3 separate regions of the Homo sapiens genome follow, and regions 1 and 3 are each linked to region 2. Evidence: promoter capture Hi-C in 16 types of primary human blood cells and fetal thymus (Javierre and others, 2016). All regions are on one chromosome and are shown on one strand. Each heading gives the region's core, a stretch centred on a gene start or on the middle of the fragment in contact. The rest is flanking DNA. Distances are from core to core; before and after follow the strand shown.

What was found. The method cuts DNA at HindIII sites, captures the fragments that hold promoters and counts their contacts. A CHiCAGO score of 5 or more calls a contact.
Region 1: a fragment that was not itself captured here is called in contact with the fragment with the promoter of MTCL3 in region 2 in 1 of 17 cell types (fetal thymus); the score reaches 5.6 in fetal thymus.
Region 3: a fragment that was not itself captured here is called in contact with the fragment with the promoter of MTCL3 in region 2 in 1 of 17 cell types (total B cells); the score reaches 5.9 in total B cells.

The regions. Positions count from the first base shown.
Region 1 is chr6:129,488,602-129,491,394 of GRCh38, forward strand. All of the region lies in intron 56 of LAMA2 (laminin subunit alpha 2), which reads left to right. Among named protein-coding and RNA genes, the nearest start is that of ARHGAP18, 220 kb to the right of the region's middle. RefSeq lists an enhancer at 1,971-2,793. The HindIII fragment of the contact is 738 bases long and covers 983-1,720 here.
Region 2 is chr6:127,518,056-127,520,755 of GRCh38, forward strand. MTCL3 (MTCL family member 3) reads right to left here and starts at 1,280. Exons shown (of 7, transcript NM_001400265.1): 1 at 524-1,280. It overlaps SOGA3-KIAA0408 (SOGA3-KIAA0408 readthrough), which reads right to left and starts at 1,280. Exons shown (of 13, transcript NR_174482.1): 1 at 524-1,280. The HindIII fragment of the contact is 11,602 bases long and covers 1,156-2,700 here.
Region 3 is chr6:126,002,580-126,005,279 of GRCh38, forward strand. The region is part of intron 7 of TRMT11 (tRNA methyltransferase 11); the gene reads left to right. Among named protein-coding and RNA genes, the nearest start is that of TRMT11, 17 kb to the left of the region's middle. The HindIII fragment of the contact is 278 bases long and covers 1,180-1,457 here.

The DNA of each region.
Region 1 (2,793 bases), core at 102-2,601, 2.0 Mb after region 2:
AGTTAATTGGCCATATAAACGAACAGTTTTGCCATTCATTGTTAATTACAGGATAATATATGACATATTAGTGTGTAGTCACTGAACTCTGTGCCAAAACAGTAATACATTTGCTACCATAATGGCTCATTCGGCACTCTAAGGTTAAAATGCAATCTACTCTATAAGCAAGTGCCACATTAAACTGATTGACCAGAGATCGCAAGTGACCATGAGAACTTCACCCAGAAAAAATTTTTAATGCTTTATATGCCTATTCTATGGCATGATTTGTGTCACATACTAGACAAAGATGATTTGTTTTCATTGTTCTGAATGTATGTGAGATCTGTAATAACATCCTTTCATCACAGATGAGAAAATATTAACTAACCTGCCCAAAATCATGTACTACAAATAACAGGACCAGGTATTAAATGAGATGATATATTTGACTTAAATACCTCCATCTATGCACAGCCAATAGATTATTCTTACATTTTTGTGTGACCATAAAGGTTTATATTACTAAATGTTGATTATGATGTATGATTATTAATTTGGAGATATTTGCATTATCCCAACACTTTTCAGATTTTCAGACTATGCATGTCAGTCATCATTTCTTTTCCTAAAATCCTGGACAAAATGATAGCTTTAATACCGCCTCACAAAATAATTGGATTTTCACCAAACTGGGGGCCAAGCTTCTCAAGAAGCTCCTTCTCCCTTGTCCTCTGCCTCTCTTTACTCCTCCTCCCTCATTCTCTCTCCCTTCCACCCCTTCATCTGGAAAAATCTCCCTTTAGTCACTTTGGTATCTAATTTCTTGGCACTCCAGTGACCTCTGCCTCCTATATCTGCTTTGTCCTCTGATCCTTCTCCTGGCATCCGCCTTGGTGGCCAGCAGTTCTTACTGGACAAAAACATCAAACCCTAAGAGCCTGAAGTAGTTACTTAAGCAAATAGGACAAGCAACTGAACTGAGTTTTTCTTCTGGGAAAGCTTTCTTCACACAGGTACAGAAATAGGCTAAAGGTCAGGAAGTAGGGTGAGATATTTTAGGAGTCATTTGGGGTTTCCAGAATGAGATAAAGATTTTAACACTGAACCCTAAATATTTTCTTTCTTAACATCCAAAGTATGTTCAAACAGAAAAAAGATTAGATTCTATTTATTATGTAAATTACAAACATTAGGACACATTTCTCTTAATATCTTCTTCCACGTATGCAATCCAACTGATATGGTTTTAAAAAAAATCTTAAACCCACATTCCAAACAAATAAGAAATAGGGTATAAGTAATCAAGTAATTATGAAACTCTAAGAATCAGCCACTGAAACTGTAAAAAAAAAAAATAAAGCTGACCTATTACAATACTAAAGTAATACAAAGTTTAATGTACCTTTTTGCACATAGCAGGCCTCAGTAAAAAGCTGTTAAATAAATACTTTTTAAAAATGGAAAACACACCAGAATCATAATGGACATATTGGCAATGTCCTTCTCAATAAAAACTAAAGAAATGATCTAGATTTGATGTTCCTAAAAGGTAAAATAGGAGCAGGATTTAGCTGTAGTTTTCTAGCAATGCCCTTTTTAAGTAATACAGCCTCAGGGCAATCCCTTAATTAATATTTTCCGCTGTTTGAAGTAGGTATTTTTATCTCCATCTTATAAATGAATGAAATGGACCTGAGCATGATTAAATAACTTGCCCAAGGTCACACAGCTAGTAAGCTTCCACACTAGTACTTAATTCCAGTATGTTCCTCCTGAAAGCCCACACTCATTCTCCATCACCACCCTGTGAATTGGTTTAAAAAAAATAAGGGTCACTATGATGGTCCTTGTGGCAGAACCACACTACAGAGAGAGGCTACACCAGAAAGAGGAAGGCCTCTAGCTTTTTAAAATTCTAATCAAGAACAGAGATTTACTCTCCTTGGACAATCTTTAACAGAGGCTTATATCCTTCATTAAAACCTTAGAAGCCCTGTGATATCATGTTGCTAAGAAGAGGCTGCTTTCAGCTAAAGGGGAAAAAGAGTGTAGGGGAGGGGCTTCTCAGTGAGTCACACATACCCGGAAGTGAGTGGTTTTCTGAAATTCTCGTCTCAGGAAACCACCGACACTCTTAGCAAGGAAGCTGAACCTCCTGGGTTTTGCCAACACATTTTTCCATAGTTTGGTAAAGAAAGAAACCTCAAAAGTATGTCATTTCCCCCTATTTTCTCTTTGAAACTAAATTTTACCGGTCCCTTCTTCACCCCCTTAACAGTGACGTTTTTGAGCCACAGCGAAATCCATTTTTTGTCCCTTTCTCTTACTTTTGAATTATCTTACTTGTAAAGTGCCAATTCAGAGCATCTTTACCCTGGCTTATTGTTTTTTCCAGTTCTACATGTGGTTTTACTTCTTTATAAAGTCAAGTAAGAGGGTACTTTAGGACTGAGGTTTCCATCCAAGTACTCCGGTTTTCTCTCCAGATATGAAGTAAGTTTTCAGTAATCCATTCATGATCCCCAGGCTAGTGACTAATGCTTATGACTAATAGCACCATGATGACTGTTAAGACCGAAACTCAAAACTTGCTTCCGGAACAAAAGAGAAAATGCCTTTGGTCATTTTCATCAGAACTCTTTGTCTCCTTCTGATTCTTGGCCCAGGGATCCAAGGATTGTTGTAAATAAGTAGCATGAGGTTCTCAATTAGCAGTGTGTGAGTTCTCTCTCATAAGCAAATTAGGAAAATTAATGAAACAGCCACTAAGGAAAATCATTGCAAGGAACAATTAGCAGGGTGTCCTTG
Region 2 (2,700 bases), core at 30-2,529:
CCTCCCTTTCTGTTTCTGGCATCTCCTTCCAACTCACTTTGAAATATAAAGGTGAACAAAGAAGACATCGGGGGAAAATTGCCCACCAACTTGTTTTCTACATCTTCTCTCCCAGTCGCGATACTACTAGAATGTCTGGCCTAGTTTATCATCATGGGTGGCACTAACATGGGCTATCTAACTAACTTATATTGCCAATGCAAACTTATTTTTGTTTTTAATCAGGCAGAATAATTCCAGAGCTGAGAAGCCAATGTTTAAACTCAGCCCTCAGACAGCATTAACCCAGGCGAAAGCTTGTGTTCCAGTAACTGGGCTCCACAATCAAAGGTATCCGGCTGCTGTCACGTGGTTCCCACAAAGTGACAAGATGCTGCATCTCTTCAAGGCTTTCCCGGTGAAAATTATCACCCAACCAACCCCTGCACGGCTTAGACCAACACTTTTAATCTCAAGTTTTATCCGCCTGCTAACCCACCCCATCATTCATCCCCAACCCTTTAGAAATCCAGAACTTGCTCACTTCTCAGCAGAGGCGAGGTTTCCAAGTAGCTGAACAAATCAACAGCACTTTCCTTCTGATATTCCGGGGATCTCAGGGTTTATTATTGTGCCTTTCTGCGCCGAGGAAAGTTCAACTTCATATTATTGTATGCGACTTTCCGGCTGAGCATGACTTTGGGCTCGCTCGCCGCAGTTCCACACCCACTCGATTTCTCCAAACAATGGCGGTAACGTCAAGATTCAGCTGCCCCCAGAGCGGGTGACTTCCCGGCGGTCCGCGGCTGGGCTGGAGCTGCAGCTCTCAGCAGGCTAACACGCGAGGTACCAAGCTGGGCCAGACGCTCCCCAGGAAGTGCAGAGATGTTCATGAGCTGACCTCACCGAACTGGGCAGGAGAGAAGGCGGGATTGCAAGGGACGATAGGGTAGAAGTAACCAAAGAGAGGTTACTTTCAAGAGGAAAGAGAAGAAGGCGGGGAGGGGGACGGGGGACGGGGGTGGGGAGTGGCGGGATAAAGAGACAAAAAGGCCAGAGCCACGCCCGAGATGGAAGATTGGCAGCAGCGCTCAAACTCCTTGCTCTATTCTCTTATCCCGTACTTGGCAGAGGATCCCAAAACCGCTCGAACACGGATGCACTGGTTTCCTGCAAAGCTTTGTCCTGGGTTCGGTCATTCTCCATCAATTATTTACTTGAGCTTCTTTTCCAAGGAGGCGGACTAGAACAGCCTTCCGGGCGTGACTAACATCTCCTGATGCAGCTGGCTGGCGGCTGCTGGGAGTTCTCTTTGTTCACTCACTTTAATTCTCAGTCGAGCTCTACACGCGGTGCTCCCTCCCCACCCCCAGCCCGGGCGGAGTCATCAGATGTCGTTTCCACGAATAGATAATGGTTGCCATGATGGGACCCACCGTCCCACAGACAAAGGGTTCTTGCGAAGCCACGACTAATTTAGTGCAAACCGAAATAAATATCGGCCCACAGAGATCCTTTACAGAACGGTTTGCCTTCAGTACGTTTTCCTGTTTTCTACTGAGTGCCGGTTTCTACCGTGAAAATGAGTAATTGCTGGGATCCATAATCTTTATAGTAGTGCATGCGAACAATAACAGAAACCAGGAAGAATACATTATATCAGCCTAAAAGGGAATTCATTTAAAAAGAGGAGTTCAGAATATACATGTCTTTACAATTTACACTAACCCATACTGTTTCACAGTAATAATATTTTTAAAAATTAAGTGGAATTTTCTCTTTTTCTTTTCAGTTTCTTCTTTCAGTGGTGGGCGGGGGGCATGGGAGCCTCCCTTCTACCTCTAAGAATTCCTTTGTGAGCTTGAGTATGAGAATAAAAGTAAGTACTGCTTTTGAAAGGGCATTTTAAAATTTAATTTGTCTTACATTTATATGGTGATTTTGTAAGTAAAAGGAAGAAGATATCTTGAAATAATAATAGCTTTTTGTGCCAACATGAATTTTGGCTCAAGAGATTCAATTTTCCAAGTGTTGATCTTGCATTAAAAGTGAAATAAAAACAATTTAGGAGTAGTTTGCATAAAAGCAATTATTACAGCAAAATAAAAACATGCTCAAGCTCTGGTTATTCTTATCTTTAGAGACACATAAAACAAATATGATATCACGATAAAATCATTCATGTTCCAAAATAGGTATTAAAAGCCAATTTTGAGCCTGGCACTGTCCAAGGTACTGGGATGCAAAGCTGAATCAAGAAATTGTCCCTGTGCTGGGGACACTCAAGCATACTGGTGAAAACTGAGATAATTTCCTTATTTTCTTTCAAATACCTTTGGGAACAGGAAAAGTGACATCTGTGACATTTATAATAAAAAGCCCACACCTCGACTAGCATACCAAAAATAAAGGAAAAAAAAAAAAGCAAGTGAAAATGTAATCACAAGTTGGTTTGAATTTATATTAGGCAATTTCTTATTATGTACCCAAACTTGAGCTGTAATATCCTCAAGAAATATCAAGATGCACATGTCTCATCCAATCAAAATGGATAAAGTAGATACAAATATTTTTCAGCTCAATCTTTACCAATAAAATATTGATACTGTAAACACAGTCTAAAGACACAGAATATGCATAGTCCTGCTTCTCTAAGAATTTTTACTCTGCTCAGGCATCTATGTTTTGATTTTTTTTCCGAAAGCGGTATCATTTATTTCG
Region 3 (2,700 bases), core at 69-2,568, 1.5 Mb before region 2:
AAATTCATTTGGGTTCATTTGTTCCAGTTTGCCCTCTGTTTTAGGTTTTTATCTCCTATCCCCCACTCCTTATTGATTTACTTTTATTTTCAAATATGTATAAGATGAACTTGCTTCCAAAAGTCAGAACTACACAAGAAGTGGTACTCAAAGAGATGTCACTTTACCTTTATAACGCTTCCAGCCTGTTCTCCCACCTATCCTAGGTGACTAACTTCATTGTTTTCTAGTTGATTCTTCCTGTTTCTTTTTGTAATGATAATACATTTTCTGATTCATAATGGAATATATACATTTTCTTATTTTCGCTACTTTCTTACACAAAAGGTATCATACTGTGTGTGTTGGTTTTAACTTTGCTTTTTTCACTTAATGGTATTTCCTGGAAATCACTTCCTGTCAGTTCATGGAGCTTATCTTTATTCTGTTTTAGTTTTGCTTCATGAGTGTATGTACCGTAATTTATTCAAACAATCTCCTATAGTTGGACATCGGTAGTTTTCAGTATTTTACAGTTACAAATAATGCTTGAAATGACTAACCTTATGAATATATACCTTTGTAATGTTGGAGATGTAGCTCTAGGGCAAGCTTATCCAACCCGCAGCCCATGGACCACATGTGGCCCAGATGGCTTTGAATGTGGCCTGATACAAACTTGTAAAGTTTCTTAAAACGTTATGAGAATTTTTGCAATTTTTTTTAGCTCACCAGCTATCATTAGTGTTAGTGTATTTTATGTACAGCCCAAGACAATTCTTCTTCGAATGTGGCCCAGGAAAGCCAAAAGATTGGACCCCTCTGTCCTAGGGTAAATTCTTACAAGTAGGATTTCTGGGTTGAAGAGTGTATGCATATGCAGTTTCATTAGATACTGCCAAATTTGTCTCCATTATACTATTTTGGATTCCTACCAACAGTTGTAGGAGAGTCCCTGTTTTTCCACAGTCTCACCAGCAGAGTATATTTCAGGCTTTTGAAGTTTTGCTTGTTCTGTTGGGTGAAAAATGATATCTCAATGTAGTGTTAATTTGTATGTCTATGGTTACGAATGAAGTATCACAATTTTTTATATTTTAAGGGCCATTATGACTTTCTTTGATTTGTCTTTTTTTGTCTTTTGCCCATTTTTTGATAGCATTTTTGGTCTCTTTCCCTGATTTTTCAAGGTCCTTTGTAAGCTTGAGATACAACCTCCTCACACTCCCCTTATTTTTCTGTGATGTATGCTGCAGTATTTTCCCTTAGCTTGTCATTTATCTTTTGACTTTGCTACTAATTGATTTTTGCCATGCAAAAGTTTTCCCCACACTCAAGTTATAGAGGAATTCATTTGTGTTTTCTTCTAGTGCTTTTGTAGTTTTACATTTTTTCTTTTTAGATCTCTGGTTCATTTGGAGATTATTCTCCAGTATGATGTGAAGAATGGATTTAATTTACCTTTTTCCAAATGCTAAAGCTTTTATTCTTAATCTTGTTCTTGGACTTTAAAAACTTTTTTTGTCAATTGAGAATAATTCTTTTAGATATATACATGTAGAAAATGATTAATATATATACATACACATAGACTAGACCACAGAGTTAAAAAATATGGTTGCCAGTATGGGTAATATTTTTTTGTTGAGTAGATGAGGCTAGATTTTGAAATTATCTTCACAGCTGTCAATATATGGACCATTTATAGTGTGTTGAGGGGCAAGGAGACCTGCTTCTGTTTGCTTTAGGGCAGCTCCTCACAGTGGGTAGTATATTTGGAACGTCTGACTGTTCATATAGTACAATTAATAGAAAATGAGAGGAGGATCTTTGCAAAGGTGCTGCTGAAATATATTTTCGTAATTTGTGTTTGTAGTTTAAGTATAGCTTTAGGACATCAGTCAATTTTTGGTGCTTTTGTTTTGAAACATAATAACCAATAATTGTGAATAGACACAGGTCTTAAGCACAGTTTGTCCTCTCTTGGGCCTTTTGCCTCATCGATGGGTGGTACCTTCTGAAGGACTGGAGAAATACGTAGCTCTGTGTCCTTCTCCATGGCCATAGTTTTCACAAAACATTTGTTGATATTTTTCTTTTGGTTGCCTTTTAAATAGTTTTTTAAAAAAAATTCATGTGTCTAATCCCCTTTTTATTTTAAAGGTACAAAATTGAAATGTATGTAGTTTCCCAAATGTATTGCTCACTTACTACTCATGGTTCGTGATTTTTCTCAGGGATATAGAGTAGGGTAGAAAGCTTCTGGGAGACTGAAAGGAGAAAAATAATCTTTTCATGCCTAAATACTTTTCCTTTTTTCCTTTAGACTGTTTGCTACTGTTGTTTAGAATGACATTATGAGCGGCAGAAACACACTTTTCTTTCAATTTTAACAAATACATTGGTTTTCATTTTAGTAAAAATTCTTTTTTTAAAGTGTGTGTCTCCACTTTCCCAAAGGGGAAGAGACATAGCATTGTGTCATCTCTTAGTTGTTAGGAAGTGCTACTATTCTCATGTGAGTTTGGCTAAAGGAATGATCATCATGAATTTATTGAATACCTATTAATGGCACAGCCCTGTCTGTGATACAGTACAAGACTTGTGAATGGCATATATAACACTCTTATTAACAGAGTGTGTAGCTTTACTTAATTTAATGTAATTTGTTTAGTAGCATATTTTGCTTTTGTTTATCTAATTGGTGAGTGAATATGTATT